Regions from separate parts of the Homo sapiens genome. Here region 1 is linked to region 2. The links are contacts of gene promoters, found by promoter capture Hi-C in blood cells and fetal thymus (Javierre and others, 2016). All regions are on one chromosome and are shown on one strand. Each heading gives the region's core, a stretch centred on a gene start or on the middle of the fragment in contact. The rest is flanking DNA. Distances are from core to core; before and after follow the strand shown.

Region 1 (3,634 bases), core at 1,126-3,625, 590 kb after region 2:
CAGAGGCGAGGGCCACTGTCTCTGGGTCAAGCTGGCGCAGTGAGTCTTGGTTGAGAGATTTAACAGGGCTGGCTTCTCAGCCTTCTGAAATTGAACCTCTGGGTTCTGATAAACACCCATGTGCAAATCACATGCAAATCAGCTTTGCAAATTCTTAGCCAATAGCTTGTGCCCATCTTATTCAGGGCATGGTAACTCTTGCAAAGGAAAGAGGCAGCAGCTCAGTGCCAGCAGCTCGTCCATATCACTCTCAATCACTCCATTTTACCAATTACGGAAACAAGCTCAGAGAGGTGCAGTGACTTGCCCGTGGTCATACAGCACTGCAACTTCTAGGACGTAGAATGCAATGACCCTTGAAGTGCCTTTGAACCCAGAGATGTAGGTTCTAACATCATTATTCAGTGCAAGCAATTTATACCAAAGTATGCTCCAGTCCTCCTTTGGAAAAGGCAGCCTGTGTCCAGAGCCAGCTTGAGGTGACTACACAGGGTGAGCCAGCTTTCCAAGCCTCGCCATCATCTTGCTCAGATGGAGGTAATGATCTCCATCCTGCTTCCCCAAAATGCCATGAAGCTGAAAGACTTGGAAAACTTCAGTCAGCAAATATGGGTCAGTGATTTCACACTGAAAAGTTGGGGTTTCGAGCACGACTGTCTAAGGGTTCCTCACTTGCTCTGGGTCTGCATCCCACACCCTGGAAAAGCTTCCTACCATTCTACAAAGTGGGGTCACTGTCTTGACACCCTAAATTCTCAAAGGTCAGCATAGCGGTGGTTTTGGAGACCATCTTTTCTTCTGTTTTGCTTGTCAGCAGAAGTGAGACCAAATGCCTTGCTCACAGGAAGTGCTGGTGGGGCCCGGGGCCCAGCTCTGTAATTCAGGCAGACATGGATTCCAGCTCTCCTTTTGCCAGATGTTTCCTATACATCTGTGCTGTCCCAGGCCCTGGGAGTATACTGCTGTACCAGAGAGAACCCCGACTCCAGCCCCTCCAGCCCTGGCTTTTTACCCAGAGTAAAAGCAATGATTCAATGAGGACTCCCCTGATTTCAAATGGCGTCAGTGGCCACCCCGCCCTCACATGGCTCACGGGTCTAGTGGGGGAGACATAGACTTTGCATTATGATAATAAGCACTACAAAGGGAAGGAAAGTGCACGGTGCCAAGAAGGGGTCGGAAGAGGGCCAGCCCTAGTTTAGGGGGAGGTCAGGACAGGGTGTGCTGACGAGTTTGTCTGAACTGAGATCCGAAAGCTCTGCCAGGAAAGCCACCAATGCAATCGACTTGCAATTCACAAGTTGCCTGCTCAACACCAGCCGGTGTGCATGCCCGGATCTGGACTAGGACATGGCTTCCAGTCAGCTTTTGCTGCCGGCAGTGATGAAGAAAGGCAGCGGTTCCCTCTGCTGGTTCCTTCTGCACTGTTCAGTTGTCATAAGTCCCCAGGGATTGTATTCCTCTGGGGGAAGCAGGGCAGGGCAGGCTCCAGAGGGCCAGTGAGGCGAGCAGTTGTCTAACACCTTTCTTGGAATGAAATGAAATTTACTTTTATCAAAAAATGTTAAACTGGGCCAGGCGTGGTGGCTCACGTCTGTAATCCCAGCACTTTGGGAGGCCGAGGCGGGCGGATCACCTGAGGTCAGGAGTTCAAGACCCAGTCTGGCCAACATGATGAAACCCTGTCTCTACTAAAAATACAAAAATTAGCTGGGTGTGGTGGTGCGCCCCTGTAGTCCCAGCTACTCGGGAGGCTGAGGCGGGAGAATCGCTTGAACCCGGGAGGCGGAGGTTGCAGTGAGCCGAGATCGCACCACTGTACTCCAGCCTGGGCAACATCCTCCGTCTCAAAACAAAAAATCAAAACAAAACGTTAAACTGATTCAGTGAGGACTCTCCTGATTTCAAATGGCATTAGCGCCCACCCCACCTGGCCTTGGAGCTGACGAGTTAACCACAGGAGGCCAGCCTCGGATAGGATGAAGACACTCTCCATCTGTCTCACTTGGCATCGTGGGCTCTGCCCTGCTCTGTCGGGAGGTCCCGTGCCCCAGGCTTCCACTTACCCAGCTTGATCTGCCGGTGGGAAGAGCTCTCCTGTTCAGTAATTCAATTGGAAGGGTCAGGCTCCTGGGTCCCTCACCTGGCTAGTCTGGTGGGGGCAGGGAGTGGAGGGACAGAGGGATGGGTGACGCATGCAGCCAGGGCTGGGGCACCTGGAGTCAAGGGGGCTGAGACTAGGAAGGGGACATTCTCCAATAGGAGATCAGGGGAGGAGGTAGGGATGCTGGGCAGGCGGAACCCACAGGGTCCCCATGCAACAGCCCCTGGGAAGTCACTGGCGGGACAGAAATCCAATGGGATTGAGCTCTTCTCAGCGGAGTCCTCCCTCGCTGCTGCTGGTCTGAATCCTGCCGTCTTTTGCCTGGACTAGCACAGTAGCTGCCACCTGGGCTCCACCTGGCAGTGTGAGGGGGCCCTGAAAACGAAGCTGGACCACATCACCCCACTACTGTGGCTCCTCTCTCACTCGGAGTCCAGCTGGGAGCTCTGCCCAGACCCCGGGCTCTGTGCCATCTGTCCCTACCGGTCTCTCGGACTCCCCCTACTGCCCACGTACAGCCAGCTCCAGCCTTCTGCTCCAACGATGCGGCTTGTTCTTGACCACCCTCCTTTAAAAAGAGGTCCTCCCTGTCCCCACCCACCCCTGGCTCTGATCTTGCTTTGTGGGTTCATCTTCTCCGCACCCATCACTCCTGGGCATTCTGATATGTGTTCGTGCCCCATTCCAATCCCAGCTCCAAGAGGGCAGACACTTGGTCAAACCTCTTTGCCTTTGTATTTAAAACGTGCCTGCCACAGAATGGGTGCATAATCAACATTCTGCTGAATGAAGACATCAATTCATGTCCCTCCCTGGGGATGTGGATGGAGATGAGTAGGTGGGCAGCCTGCTGGCCAGAAGCTGAGCTAGCATCTTATTTACTCGGGACGGGCACTCAGGAGATGGCAAAAGTGTCTTCCGCAGGTTGCTTAAACTTGCTGGACAGGCACTTCTTTGCTTCAGGCCTGTGTGGGGGAAGCAGCGTTGCCAAATCAAGCCAGTGATAGGGTGTCAAAAGGCCGGCAGTATGGGGCCCTGGGTGTGACTCTCTCTGCAGGGTGGGGGAATGCACAGGTGGGGCGGGGGGTGATTGGGAGTGGGAAGTGGGGTCAGAAGACGGGGGCTAGCTCCCTGCCCCATTCTTTCACTTACAAGGCCGGATCAGCTCTCCCTGGCTCCCAGCCCTCACTGTGGACTGTCCTTTCCCCTGGGGCCTGAGGGCAGGCTTCCCCAGCCACTGAGACTGCGAGATCGCTGCAGGCTTGCCCTGAGCAGCACTGTGATCTGTGTGTTGTGTATCCGTGTGTTTGCAAGGGAGGCTGCCACCTCCCGGAGCCTGGGTACCGGCGGGAAAGGAAGTCGCAGGGGAAACCATTCAGAGGCTTTCCAGGAACGAGGGAGAGACAGGAAGCCAAACTGAAAGGTGCCTGGCTGGCGCTGGGGCGGCTCTCCCCTCTCTCTGGGACACCCTTCCCCTTCCCCCTCAACCGGGTGGCTCTGGCCATCTGTTGGCCTCAGCGCAGAGGTCGG
Region 2 (4,275 bases), core at 308-2,807:
AGCTCAAGGGTGTGAGTAACCTGGAGCTTCTTCGACTGGGCCCCCCTGAGGAGGGCATGGAGCCCAAGATTCGTTACCATAATTACTTGAGAGGCTGTCAAATTCCATGACAAAACGCAAATGCAAAGCCCTGGCCCCAGCAGCAGGCAGCTGAAAGGGACCTTGACCCTGTTGAGTACTCCAGTATAGAAGCTGCTGGATTCTAACCAGGGCTCTCCCATGCCCGGCTCTATAAACTTTCTCTATATTTTGCATTGTTTCCCTAAGGGTAGGAGATTCCCGTAAGTTGGGTCAAAGGGCAGGGAGGTTTCCGTGGTTCTCATTGGGCCCTGCTGCTGCTCTCCAGACAGATGATGGATCAGCTGTCAGGGTGGCCCCGGCCATGCCAGCGCAGTAGGTGGTCAGGGCGCACTTGGGGCAGCCGGCAGGGCAGAAGGGACGGGAGCTTGACCCGTGTTCTCATGGGCAGAGGGAGCCCGGGCAGTGTTGGGGGCAGCGTGCGGGCAGGCGCGGAGGGGAGATAGCCAGGCAGTCAGGGAGAATTGGGGTGACTGGAGAAAGGCCGAAGGGCCGCGTCTGCCTGCGGCCGGAGACCACCCCAGGTCCATACAGCCAGCTGGGTGCCGGGCACCATTTGGAGCCGCTGGGAAAGCCAAGCACCGCTCTTTCTGGAGCCTTCTTTTTTCCTATTGTTAGGGAATTCACGACGTCACACTTGTTTTCAAGTGAAAATAAGAGTTGTGTAGGACGCGAAAGTCACGTGACTTGAAAGCTGAACCTGAGAGGCCTCAAAATAAATTCTGGTTTGCTGTGAAAGCCTCGGGTTATAGCGCTAAACTCCCCCCTCCACTGCCCCCGAAAGTTGTATTCTCCTCTGCTTTTAGGGTGGGGTGTGGCGTAAACAACACAGCTTGAGCAGCTCTGAGGAGGAGGGTGTTAGAGACCAGGCAGGCGGAGCAGGCAAGAGTTTTCAAGGATGTCGAAATAGTTTGAGACGCCCCGTCCCATTATAAAAGTGATAACGAGAGACAGCAGGAACGCGCTTCTGGACAGAAAACAGACCCTAAGGAAAGGCAGCCAGAGGCTCACGCTGGATCCTGCGGTCTTCCCTATCTGCGCCTCTGTACCTCCCTTGCCTTTACAAAGCGCATGGATCAACTTTGGAACAGGTTCTAATTCTGCCCCAGATCCATCTGCGTCTTCCCACGACTCACAAATCTGACCTCAGGGTGCAAGCGCAGCCCCAGCCCTCTAAGCCTGGGTAGGCAGGGCTCTCCCACCCGAGAAAGGGCCGAGGGGAGACTTCCGGGGCGGGACCGACGTGGGCCCCTCCCACTCGGCGGCCGGTGGGTTCAGCCTGAACGCACTGCGGAGGTGGGGCCGACGAGGGATCCAGGGGCGGGACAGGTTCGGGGCGGGACAGGTTCAGGCCCCTCCCATGCGGCGGCCAGCGCGAGCGGTAGAGGCGGGTCTGGAGGCGGGGCCTGCGTGGAGCCAGACGGCGCAGCTGCTGCCGGGGGCGGGGCCGGCGGGCTGTGGCCCCGCCCTTAGCCGCCATTGCCGGGCCTGCCTGGCCACCCTGCGCAGCGGCCTTGCGTCCTCTCCCGGGGCGGAGCGGGTCGGCGGGCCTGACAGGGAACCTCCCTGACCGAGCCCACGTCTCCCCACGGCCAGAGAAATCTCCGGCCCGGCCCGCATCGCCAGCCCCCAGGCCCGGAGGAACGGCCCGAGCCCAGGAGAACCACATCTTCGTCCCAGCCCCGGAGGCTCCTGTGGGCAAGATCGTGAGCCAACGGGTTCCTGAGGCCCCTCCTGGCCAGGCAGGGTTTCCCCGCGCGTTTCCGAGGAGCCCTGCCTGGCCGGGCGGCTGGACAAACAGGTCGTAGCACCGATCGCGCCCGCCCCCAGCAGGGGTCCCGCACAGGCTTGCCCCTGACCCCCACCCAAACCTGTCCTTCCGCTTTGCCCCCAAACAGTGCACTTGCCGGCGGTCCCAACCCAGCAGGAGAAGTGGACATGAGGTTGGCAGGTGGGTGGCTTCCACAGCGAACGGGAGGGAGTTGAAAAGGGCACCTGGCTGGAGGCCCAGCGTCGCGACATCTGTGTCTGGAGAGGCCCGGGTGAACCACTGGGTTTGGTTTTGGAAATGGAGGACTCTGCACAAACACTCGTTCCTTGACCTTAACCAAATCCTTTCACCTCTGAGGACGTCAGCTCCCCGAGCTATGACATGAGGATTAGTATAGTCAGTATCTCCCAACGCAGGTAGCAGACCAGCTGCTTTTTGGAAAATGAGTGGTGAGAGAGAGGAGGTGGGCAGTCCAGGTGGAGAGGCGTGGTCTTAGAGGGGAAGTGACAAAAGTGGCTGTGGGCTTCGACATGAACCCGATGACAGCCCTACTGTCACCTGGACAAGTAAGATGAAGATCCTTGGGGAGGGATAGGTTGGGGCTGGGTGGAGAGTAGAAACAACTCGGGAATTGGACTTCAGACTTGCTAAGGTGGTAACTTTGTGGACATATCCAGGTGGAGCTGGCCACTGAGGAACCAGCTGGCAGGGAGTGGTTTCAAGAGAGGCCACGGCTGGAACTAGAAAATAGAAAGTCATTGACACATGGTGCTTAATTAAAGAGCTAGGAGTAGATGACATCATCTAAAAACACACTACAGGCCGGGCGCGGTGGCTCACGCCTGTAATCCTAGCACTTTGGGAGGCCGAGGTGGGAGGATCACTTGAAGTCAGGAGTTCGAGACCAGCCTGGCCAACATGGTGAATCCTCATCTCTACTAAAAAAATACAAAAAAATGAGCCTGGCGTGGTGGCGGGTGCCTGTAATCCCAGCTACCCGGGAGGCTGAGGTTGCAGTGAGCCGAGATTGCGCCACCGCATAACTCCAGCCTGGGCGACAGAGCGAGACTCCGTCTCAAAAAAGTAAAGACAGCTGGGCGCAGTGGCTCACGCCTGTAATCTCAACACTTTGGGAGGCCAAGGCGGGTGGATCACCTGAGGTCAAGAGTTCGAGACCAGTCTGGCCAAGATGGTGAAACCCCGTCTCTACTAAAAATACAAAAATTAGCCAGGCATGGCCGGGTGCGGTGGCTCACACCTGTAATCCCAGCACTTTGGGAGGCCGAGGCGGGCGGATCACGAGGTCTGGAGATCAAGACCATCCTGGCTAACATGGTGAAACCCCGTCTTTACTAAAAATACAAAAAAATTAGCCGGGCGTGGTGGCGGGCGCCTGTAGTCCCAGCTACCAGGGAGGCTGAGGCAGGAGAATGGCGTGTAACCGGGAGGCGGAGCTTGCAGTGAGCCAAGATCACGCCACTGCACTTCAGTCTGGGCAACAGAGCAAGACTCTGTCTCAAAAAAAAAAATTAGCCAGGCACGGTGGTGCGCGCCTGTAATCCCAGCTACTTGGGAGGCTGAGGCAGGAGAATCGCTTGAACCCAGGAGGCGGAGGTTGCAGTGAGCCGACATCGCGCCATTGCACTCCAGCCTGGGGGGCAAGAGCAAGACTCCGTCTCAAAAATAAAAAAAATAAAAAGACACTACAGGTAGGGACCAGAAGGCAGCCTGAGATGGGAGCCTGGGAAAGTCCAGCTTTTAAGGGGAGGGTAGAGGAGACGATCTAACTAAGGAGAATGAGGAGTGTCCAGAGAGATTGGGTCAGGAGAGTGTGCTGTCCGGAAAGCCAGCAGAGAAGTTAGTGCTTCTGTCAGGTGGACATGGGCAGCCCACTGAGAGGTCAAGGAAGATCAAGGCTGACAGGTCACCAGGGGTGGTGACACCACAAAGGTCATCAGTGGCCTTGGCAACAAGCTGATTTGGTGAGGTGGTGGAAGCCAGGCCAGACTGGAGTAGGGTGGGAGGGAGTAGGAGGTGAGATGATGGAATGAGTATAGATGACTTTTGAGGGGGTTGACAGGGAAAAGAAAGGTTAGGGGAAAGAGGATGGGGATGTGGTTTTGAAGAAGAGTGTTTTCTTTGCTTCCTTAACATTGGAGATGTTGAAAATACAGGAGAAAGAGCGAACTAGAGAGAGTGATCACTATTACAAGAAATCAGAGAAGGCTGGGGAGCTTGCAATCCAGGTCCCAGCAGATGACGGGACTGTTGTTGTTTTGGTTTTGTTTTGTTTTGTTTTTGTTTTTGTTTTGAGGCAGAGTCTCACTCTGTCGCCAGGCTGGAGTGCAGTGGCATGGTCTCAGCTAACTGCAACCTCCGCCACCCAGGTTCAACTGATTCTCCTGCTTCAGCCTCCTGAGTAGCTG

The links. The method cuts DNA at HindIII sites, captures the fragments that hold promoters and counts their contacts. A CHiCAGO score of 5 or more calls a contact.
Region 1: a contact is called between a fragment that was not itself captured here and the fragment with the promoter of FAM3A in region 2, in 1 of 17 cell types (total CD4 T cells). The highest score is 6.3, in total CD4 T cells.

What each region holds. Positions count from the first base shown.
Region 1 is chrX:153,922,017-153,925,650 of GRCh38, reverse strand. The region is part of intron 1 of ARHGAP4 (Rho GTPase activating protein 4); the gene reads left to right. Among named protein-coding and RNA genes, the nearest start is that of ARHGAP4, 2.4 kb to the left of the region's middle. RefSeq lists enhancers at 1,091-1,220, 1,727-2,227. The HindIII fragment of the contact is 3,334 bases long and covers 709-3,634 here.
Region 2 is chrX:154,513,514-154,517,788 of GRCh38, reverse strand. It overlaps FAM3A (FAM3 metabolism regulating signaling molecule A), which reads left to right and starts at 1,557. Exons shown (of 9, transcript NM_021806.4): 1 at 1,557-2,029. The coding sequence starts at 2,017. LOC124905229 (a long non-coding RNA gene) reads right to left here and starts at 2,309. Exons shown (of 2, transcript XR_007068357.1): 1 at 2,074-2,309. RefSeq lists silencers at 911-1,067, 1,283-1,692 and enhancers at 1,043-1,665, 1,666-2,289. The HindIII fragment of the contact is 19,151 bases long and covers 1-4,275 here.